Linked DNA regions of Homo sapiens: region 2 is linked to region 1. Evidence: promoter capture Hi-C in human tissues and cell types (Jung and others, 2019). All regions are on one chromosome and are shown on one strand. The core of a region is centred on a gene start or on the middle of the fragment in contact, and the rest is flanking DNA. Distances in the headings are between cores, read along the strand shown. Region 1 holds the start of CYP7A1 (cytochrome P450 family 7 subfamily A member 1). Region 2 overlaps UBXN2B (UBX domain protein 2B).

Evidence for each region. Contacts are between HindIII fragments. The study calls those that stand out against the background at their distance.
Region 2: a fragment that was not itself captured here is called in contact with the fragment with the promoter of CYP7A1 in region 1 in 1 of the 25 tissues and cell types used here (dorsolateral prefrontal cortex).

What each region holds. Positions count from the first base shown.
Region 1 is chr8:58,496,871-58,502,045 of GRCh38, forward strand. CYP7A1 (cytochrome P450 family 7 subfamily A member 1) reads right to left here and starts at 3,293. Exons shown (of 6, transcript NM_000780.4): 1 at 3,149-3,293; 2 at 1,359-1,599; 3 at 1-320. The coding sequence starts at 3,228. RefSeq lists a silencer at 1,585-3,171, a promoter at 3,269-5,171 and an enhancer at 3,503-3,724. The HindIII fragment of the contact is 11,138 bases long and covers 1-5,175 here.
Region 2 is chr8:58,444,992-58,450,226 of GRCh38, forward strand. UBXN2B (UBX domain protein 2B) reads left to right here. Exons shown (of 8, transcript NM_001077619.2): 7 at 916-1,077; 8 at 2,398-5,235. The coding sequence ends at 2,560. Among named protein-coding and RNA genes, the nearest start is that of UBXN2B, 36 kb to the left of the region's middle. The HindIII fragment of the contact is 4,222 bases long and covers 89-4,310 here.

The sequences.
Region 1 (5,175 bases), core at 2,043-4,542:
TTGTCGAATTGCTTGAAGTTGTCAAGATTGTTTAGAATATGTGCTTTCTGTGTGTCCCGCCTTGTAAGATCTCTGCCAAAGATAGTTAAATACCCAGCTTCAAACATCACTCGGTAGCAGAAAGAATACATCCCTTCTGTCACCCAGGCAGCGGTCTTTGAGTTAGAGGAGACTGGAGGTCTCATGATACGTTGGAGGTTTTCCATCATGCTTTCCGTGAGGGAATTCAAGGCATGGCCCTGCAGGGTTTTGATGAAAGTGTCGTTTATGTTTTCAGTGGTATTTCCATCCATCGGGTCAATGCTTCTGTGCCCAAATGCCTGATAGCAAATAAAACATGCAGAAAAAGAAGTTAAACCTGACCTAGTCATAGTAAATGACTGAAAAACGGATTAGATACTTTCATAGTTCCTTACTTGGTAAACACGGGAAATTGGCTTTCCCTTGTACAAGTTCATAGCACTTTACAAATAAATGACCAAACTGTACCTTTCCTTTAAAGCCAACTTCAGTGGCACTCCCCTGGATCACTCAAGTCATCTATGTCTTATTTCTTATGCTACTGCACTTATTTACAGCTATTGCACATAAACTAATTGATAATGTTTTAAAATCATTAGTTATCTTTTATATTATTTGTAGATTTCTTTTTCTTTTTCTTTTAGAGATGGGGTCTCACATTGTCACCCAGGCTGGAGTGCAGTGACACAATGATAGCTCACTGCAGCCTCAAACTCCTGGACTCAAGCGATCCTCCTGCCTCAGCCTCTCAAATAGCAGGGACTACAGGTGTGTTCCATTGTGTCCAGCTGTAGATGTATTTTAACCAAACTTTAAGCTACTTAGTCACAAAGACCAAAGCTAATATTTATTTGCAGTAAGTAAGTAGTTATTGGTTTTTTTTCTCAGTAACAGATCTTCTTTTATTACATCTAAATGATGTTAAAATATCTTGCCAATTCCTTATCAAAATGAAACACTGTGTGGCACAAGTGTGGTGAGACAACTGCTGAATGTTAGGTTTCCGTCACTTGCATTCTTGCATAGACATTGCTGATGTGATGAATTTTTATCTATCTTATTCGTACAGTGCCACCTGTCTCAGTAGAGCATTTAATCTGTATTTCACCCTCATTAGCTCGTCAACAAATGACAAATCTATACCTATTTTGACTTTCTAAATGATTATTACTAAGAAGCTACGTATAATTTATTTATGTTTCTAAGAATCTCCACATAAGGATAACTCTCTTCAACACCTTTATCATAAAATCTAAGTACATCAAAATTTCTAAATAGACAAGCACATAAAAAGGTAGAAGACAAACAGAATGGTATATAAATGTAAAACTGCTTACCTTCGCAGAAGTAGCAAAGTGAAATTTTTTCCAATCAAAATATTTTCCGTGGCACAACACCTTATGGTATGACAAGGGATTTGTGATGAAATGGACATATTTTCCCATTAGTTTGCAGGTAAAAACATGACCATGTTTCCTTTGATTTGCTCTGAGGAACTCAAGAGGATTGGCACCAAATTGCAGAGCACAGCCCAGGTATGGAATTAATCCATTCTCTAGAGGTGGTTCACCCGTTTGCCTGTCAGACACAAGTGTATGATAGACATGGATGATTACAGTTTTGGGTTTTTACTTACATCAGGTTTTAAAATTTTTCCCACTGACTTCAAACTTTGAAACCCTATAGTTTATAGATATTTCTTTTGTTGGATGGGCCCTGCTCTTTTACTACAGTAATAGGTTATATTAACCTAGTAACATGATATGTTGGTGGAAAGGATTACTAAATCCATCCATTCATGCATCCGTCCATATACACATTCAACAAGCACCCGTCTACTATGTGCTCATCACTTTTCCCAGTGATACAGGCAAAAGGATTTACAAGACCAACAAGATTCTTGTTGTCAGTGCGGAAACAAAACTACATTCTAGTGTTTATCACTTTGCTAAGCATCATTTTTCTAAATATCTCAAAATGTTTCTTTTGATTATTTTCTTTAAAGACACAGATCACTGAATAAGGGAGGATTTCAGAACTGAGGTTTTGAAAATATTCCTAGTTTAAAGATATCTATATTATATTCTATAAGGATGGTTTCAGAGAAGAAGAATCTCATGTGAGAAATCAGCTTATTATAAAATGAAATTGAGTAAGATAAACACTGACGGAATCATCTATTGTAATTCAGTGCTCCTTTAAAATGTTTTTATTAGAACATGTAAACTTATTTTCCAACATAAACTTCTGTACCTCTTGATAGAATAATACAGTATAAAGTAATTACCTTTCTTTTCTTAGTTTGAAGATAAGTAGTTTAATTAAAAGTAAAAACTATCAGGCCTGAAAGAAACTGCAAAAGGCAGAAAACACATAGCAATCTACAAAGCTGAAAGATGGTTAGGGTTATTTTCTCTTTTTGAGATTGACATAGCAGAGAATATCTATATGCCTCCCCACAATTACTCCTTGAGCCAATTAGAAGTTAAATAAACTATGGTTCTGGATCTGACTGTATTTGTTTTTCTTGCATTCTTGAACCAGTTGTAAATAAATGAAATCGATGTCACATACACTCAGCAAACTTTCCCAATTCACCACAGTTGATTAACATTTATTTAAAAACAGTAATAGAATGATCAGCTCAGGCTCTATGCTCTTGTTCAGGCTTAGGCTGAGTCTATGCGATGCACAAGAATGAGCTTAAAAGAGAACATTTATTTAACAAGAGTATCTATTGAAGCCATGTGAGAGAAAGCAATCCTTTCCATTGTAGATTCCCACTTGCTACTTGTATCCTTACTAATCTGGGCTTCCTCTTTAGATACACATATAAATGTACATAGAGACCTTATACAATTTCTGTCAGTTATGTTTAACACCAATATACATTTATATATTACCATCGGTATATGCCAATACTAAAAAGGGAAGCTGTCATATGTCTTGTGAGATATAGTAAAAAAGATATTACTTTAAAAATTCAAATCAAATTTTTCATTTAAAAAATAAGGAAGATAATGCTAATATGTGTAAGTATAGAAAACCAAATTTACTGTATAAAAATGAAGGTAAAAAAATTAAATGGATGAATCAAAGAGCAATTTAAAGATAAAACATTACTTACCTTCTCCTAATTCCAAGAATAAGCCATAGACAACAGCATGCTGCTATAGCAATCCCCCAAATCAAAGATGTGGTCATCATTTTGCAAATCTAGGCCAAAATCTCTGAGGAAGAAAATCTCTGATTAGAAAGGGAAGGATGCCACTGAAAAGAGACTCAAGCTAGGCTTTTTATATACATAGTATCCAGATCCATTAACTTGAGCTTGGTTGACAAAGCAAACAATTAGCCATTTGTTCATTCTATTAGAAAAAAAAAAGTGGTAGTAACTGGCCTTGAACTAAGTCCACAGGTATCAGAAGTGGTTCCAAAGCAATCAGAGACCTGCAATACTTGATAAGTTGAAGGTCTCTCAAATATATGTTGACTTAACATTCGGACCTGGGGACAACAGCTAATATTAAGAGTTTGGTATGTGTAAAAAGAACAAATAAACCTGTTTAAGATGGGCATAGCTAATAAATACATAAACTATAATCATTTAAAGAAAGATAAGAATGAGTTATTCATCAAGCTTATAATTTGGTCTTGTTAACTTTTAAAGAAGAATTAATTTAGGTGCTTTGCCAGAGAGACGGTGATCAAGTTCAGAGGAAAGAGAACTGGGAAAAACATTTCTGCTGCTTCATGTTTCAGTGCTTTTATAAAATCATAGATATTTTACTACATATAGTAACATGTTACTCACCTAACATCCTCAAGAGAGTATTCTACATAAGTGCATCCTCTAGATAAATATAACTTATTGGAAGCATCAAAATTTTATCTATCATTCTTGTGACTAAAATGTTTATCAATGTTTCTAATTATTAAAGTAATAAATTTCATTTCAAGTAAGTTAAGACTAACTAAAACATATCTTGGTGGAAAGTGAACATCTATTAATAATTTACCTACCATGCTACTCCTTTACTCAGAAGTAACCACTAGTAACAATTTGGCATCTGTTCTTCCAAACTTTATTTCTGTGTACACAAAAATATTAGTTGAGTATTTATTACGTGCCAAGAACTCTTCAAAAGTATTCCAGTTGCAGGCATTAATAAGATAGGCAGATTTCCTAATCTAATGGAGATTCTATTCCAATGGAGAAAGGAGTAATAAAATACATGTTATGAAAAAAATAAAACATGGTATAGAAAGCTATGGGGGAATGAGGACAACTTTAGATATGATGATCAGAGATGGGCTCTCTGAAATTGTGACATTTGAGATCTGAATGACAAGAAGAGACTACTCATGTGAATATCAGAAGGAAGGATATTCCAGGAAGAGGAAGCAGCAAATGCAATGTCTTGAGTCAAGGATCAACTTGGTGAGTCTAAGAACCAAAAAGAAGGATGTATCCTACTGAAGCAGAGTGAATGAGAGTTCACAGAATTAAGACAAAAGAAGGTAGGCAACAGTACTGTGTGTGTATATATATGTATATAAACACACACACACATACACCCACAGTATTCTCTATATTTATACATGTGTGTATCTATATGTGTGTATAAATAATTATATTGAATATGTGCTTAATCTTCCATTGGATAAATGTACTATAATTTATTTAACTGATTTCCTATTGATGGATATGTGGGTTGTTTCCAGTTTTGGCTATAGATGCCATAGATTTATTTCATGTGTTTTTTGTTTTTGCCTGTTTAAACAGAGATCACACATTTTTTGTGTGTAATTTATCACCATAAATATTAATATCAATCATTGTATGGCAGTACATAGATTTTTCTTAGAATCTAGGTTTTTGGGGGGCTTTGTGCATTTATTTAGACAGGTGGATTTTTAAAAAATTAATATATCTTTTTAAAAATATGGCTTATAGAAAAGCTGATCTTATACATGGACAATCACAGCAAGATATCCCAGTCAGATAAAATGCCAATCTAATATCCAAATAATACAGCCCTTTAGAGTTACTTCTCGGGCAAATGAAGAACAAGCAAATATACAAAAATGGAAAGGAAGTCAGGCATGGTAGTGTGACATGGTTTGGCTGTGTCCCCATCCAAATCTCATCTT
Region 2 (5,235 bases), core at 950-3,449, 53 kb before region 1:
TGTCTTTCTTCCAGAAGAAAATAATCTATAGGAAACCATCTAAATCTCAGAGTTCAAGAGAAAAAACTTCAAGACTATCAAAAATTCCTTAAGATGACTGAGAAAATTGAGCTAAATTTATTTGAATTATTTAACCAAAAGAGCACTCCTCTATTTTTGACATTCACTTTTGGCATATACTGGCTGATCATCCTGCTAGTGTTAGAAGGGGCTAAGACAGCAATGCCAGGGTCACTAGTAACCAAGTTCTAATGGTAAGATATTCTATCAAGCTTCATTATGAATTTATTGTCATGTAATAACATTTTATTCCTCAATGGTACTTAGAAGTTATTTCTCTTTTGCAAAGCAGTGCTTGAATCAGATGTGTTTAAATGATATTAACCAAGTCCAAATTAAATGAATTTAGTGCTGATAATATGTTCACAATAGCTGGCACCCGTTGAAACACTGTGTTCTAGGCACAATATTAAGGACTTACTGGTATAATATACCTTCATAACATAGTATTATTCCCTCACTTTATAAATGATAGAACTGGGATTCAAAATGATTGATGTACTTACTCAACTTTACACAGTTGACATGGCTGGGATGTGAAACCATGTCTGTCTGTGCTCTTAATGATTCTTTGACCCTAACTCAGAGTTGCTCGTATTTCTAAATAAAACTGGTTTGCTAAACAGTGATGAAGTTGCAAACAGTTAAATGAGGAAAGGATGCAAAGTTAGGCTTTTATGAGAGATTAGATAAACCAAATAAGAATCGTAGGATCCAAAATAACTTTAATATAATGAAAGAGGTTGAAAGAAGTATAGGAGACTCAAATGAAGCCATGTTCTAAGTGTTTATCGCTGTCTTCAGTTTGTCATATATTTTACACATTCAGATTTGTGTTTAATTCCTCTTTTTTAGCCTTACACCTGAAATAGTCAGTACACCTTCCTCTCCAGAAGAGGAGGATAAATCAATACTTAATGCAGTTGTTCTTATTGATGATTCAGTGCCAACAACAAAAATTCAAATCAGGTTAGCAGATGGGAGTCGTTTGATACAAAGATTCAATAGTACACACAGGTAAGCTTCTTTACCAACAGTGTCCTGTTTGCTGTTATATACACTGGATTGCTTATCTAAGTAGAACTGTATGTGACTTGAGTAATGAAGAATATGATATTCTTTAGGTTTACTTTTGAAGTAAGTTTTTGACAGAAGAAACATTTTTAAAAGGACAATAGCTGTGTTTAAGAAATGAAATATGTGGTATTTAAACAGTCTCTATAAACTATCCAAATACTAATGTGATCTCAGATATCACACAAAAATAAATTAAGAACTATAGTTTTACGTTGTTACTAAAACTATATGAAGTCGAATCAGATTTAATTTAACATAGTAAAACCTTTTGGGGACTTTATTCATTTAAAAATTTGTGATAATTTTGATTGGGATTAATTTTCTGTATAGCAAATACTTCATAATATAAATGTGTATTGTAAATCAAGTTTAATTGTACTTTTGTCAAGAACTTCAGATAGTTTTAAATGTTTCTTTAATATTGACTTGTACATCAACATTTGATTTGTCCATTGAAGTAAGACCCTAATAGATATATTTATGATTTTGGTTGAATTACTATGTTTATGTGAGAGTAATTTTTTAAAATTATTCCTATGATAGCACATTTCATAGTTTTAGACTCACCTTGCCACAGGCCAATCATAGTTACCTTTTTCTGGGTCATATGCTGCTAACACATTTTATACTCCGAAAAAAGTACAACCTGCATTTTTTTTTTTTTTTTTTTTTTTTTTTTTTTTTTTTGAGACAGAGTCTTACTCTGTCTCCCAGGCTGGAGTGCAGTGGCGGAATCTCAGCCCACTACAAACTCCGCCTTCCAGATTCAAGCAATTCTCATGCTCAGCCTCTTGAGTAGCTGGGATTACAGACAGCCACCACCATGCCCAGCTAATTTTTTCTGGTTTTAGTAGAGACGGGGTTTTCACCGTGTTAGCCAGGCTAATCTTGAACTCCTGGCCTCAAGTGATCTGCCCACCTCTGCCTCCCAAAGTGCTGGAATTACAGGCGTAAGCCACCGTGCCCAGCTGGACCTGCACTTTTAAAATAACAACATTAGTACACTTACTTTATTCATAACTTACCTGAAGATTGTTTCCATTTTACAGGAAAAGTAAATGTTAAGTACACACTAAAGTTACTTTACATTTTAACTGAAGCCTAAGATAAATCCTTCAATTGAAATACTATATATTAAAGAAAGTTACAACACCTTTATATAAAGATTAAAATTTTGTGATTTTTATTATGATTCAGTTTTAAGTTTACATGAAAATATGATTTTTTATATTACAAATTATTTTTGTCTTATTTCTTCAGGATCCTGGATGTCCGGAACTTTATTGTACAGTCTCGTCCTGAATTTGCGGCTCTTGACTTTATTCTTGTGACTTCATTTCCGAATAAAGAGCTAACAGATGAAAGCCTGACACTGCTAGAAGCAGATATTCTTAACACTGTGTTACTCCAGCAACTAAAATAATATTGTTCCTGTCCATGCAGTAGCATGTGGGAATAGATGATGTGCCGTATTAATAAGGACAATACTTCAGCATTAAAAACAGCCAAATTATTTTTATTATTTTTACAGATAAATTTTGGTTTTATTGTTATTCTGTCTTCCAATCTGAATATAGACAAATTTGGATTAGGAATAGACCTTGAGATAAGTATGTTTGAGTTTTTAGTTGAAGGACTGGCTTATGTTGATAGTTTTTGGATTTCTAGGCAAATGAGTTGTTACATGCTTAGTGTTAATGTAACAACATTTGTTTGCAGAGAAAAATGAACAAAACCCCTTTTTGATAAATGCATTTGGTAAAATTTGCACTAAAGTTTCTTGATGCAGCATTGACCAACAGCCATTAAGAAATCTTTTGATCAAATAAGTTGAAAATTTGTCTATAATATATACTGAAACGTGTCTTTTGATTTTGAAATTGTTTGATCATACAATAATTATTTCTCCTATTAAGATTTTACACATCCTTTTTACTTACTGATTTAGATATATTACTAGTATCAGAAACTACAGTTTTGCCTTGTATTTTACAGAATTATGACTGTTGTGAACTTAAACAGAAACACATAAAGGTCAGCAATTCTTTTTTTTTTTTTTTTTGATATGGAGTTTTGCTCTTGTTGCCCAGGCTGGAGTGCAATGGCATAATTTCTGCTCACCGCAACCTCCGCCTCCCAGGTTCAAAAGATTCTCCTGCCTTAGCCTCCCAAGTAGCTGGGATTACAGGCATGCGCCACCATGCCTGGCTAATTTTTGTACTTTTGCTAGAGACAGCGTTTCTCTGTGTTGATCAGGCTGGTCTCGAACTCCGAACCTCAGGTGATCCACCCACCTCAGCCTCCCAAAGTGCTGGGATTACAGGCATGAGCCACCACGCCCAGCCTAAAGGTCAGCAGTTCTTAAGAAGATATGGTAAACAGCAACAATATTTTAAAATCAAGTAATTACAGTTCCTCCCAGAGCTTGCGTTGATCACATTCATTTATTCATTCAACACATTTTTCTAGGAAACTCACTGTATACACTAAACACTATTCTGTGTGCTCAACCTAGAATGTCTTCTCCAGAACAAGACTAGTGTAGAAATACAGGAATGTAAATTCTGTCAGACGGACTAGATCTAAAGAATTACCAGCATAAATGTTTGCATTTCTGCTGAAGCCAGAAGCTTTTCCTTCTTCCTAGACACCATTTCATCCTTAATTATTACTTCTGGTTAGTTTTCCATTGCCACCATAACAAGTTACAAAATGTGGCTTAAAATAGCACAAATTTATTATCTTCACAATTCTGTAGGTTAGGAGTCCAGGTTAAGAGTTTCGCGGTGCCAAGATCAATTTGTTGGCAGGGTTGCATTCTGTTAGGAGGCTCTACAGGAGAATCATTTCCTTGTCATTCCACCTTCTACAGGACATCCTCATTCCTTGGCTTGTGACCTCCTTCTTCCATCTTAAAAACCAGTGCTGTTTCATCTCTATGACCCTTCTGTTACCACATCTCTCTGACACCAGTGTGGAGAGGTTCTCTGCAGGACTCATGATTAAATGAGGCCCACCGGATATCCAATCTAGGCTTATCTCCTTGTCTTGAAATCCATAGTAACCTTAATTACATCTGCAAAATCTCTTTTACCATCTAAGGTTACATACAGGTTTGGAGATTAGGACATTAACATTTTACATGGAACATTATTCTTGCCTACTACAGTTCCCACCCACCCCCCGCTCCACTCCTGTGTTAAAGATTCAGATTCATCACAAATAAATTTACATCACTCATAGGTGCTCAAAAGTCACAATCCATTATTACAGCATCAACTCTAAATCCAAAATCTTATCTGAGTCTCACCAACTCAAAAGTCTCAAATCTCACATTGAAGCCATCTAAATTAAGTTTGGGAGAGGATCTGTGTGTGATTTCTGGGACATAATTCCAACTGTGCACTTGTGAACCTAGAAAACAAGTTATCTGTTCCCAAGTATGATGGCATGACAGGCAGACAATAATAGTTACACACGTTCCTGTTCAAAAAGCAGAAACAGATGGAAAAAGGAGCCATCAGCACCAATCAATTTACAAAACCAGCGAGGCACCCTTCTTTAAGTTTCAAGGCCTGGGAGTAATCTTCAGCTCACTGCTGTTCTCTGGGCTTGTTGACTGTCTCAGAGTCATCTTTACTTTTTCACAAAAGGTAGCACACGTTTGCAGCTGAGTATCAACTTATCAGTTTGTTCTTCTTTTATATTCTCTAAAGCTTTCTGTTAAAAATGGTGGTGCTTCTGCTGCTATAACGTTGTCAAGAAACTTGTGGGTCTTTTACATATGTCACAGGGATGCACTCATTTAGATAGGAGGCTCCTCACGTATCTTTCCTGGAAAATCCTGTCTCTGTTTTTGGCTTTTTCTGAAATAGCTGAGAGGATCTATGATTCACACCCTTAATATCTTCAAAGAGTCTTGTGTGTGACCTGATATTCAGACCTTTTGATGTTTCTGAAGTATTAGCAAAAGGTTATACAGCCATATCTTCATCACTTTCTCTAGAGTAAAGGCTGTCCTGACGGTGAATCTTAGTTTTAGTGGCTTTTGCCATTTGAATAGGCCGCGAATTTCCCAAATCATCAAGTCCTGGTTTC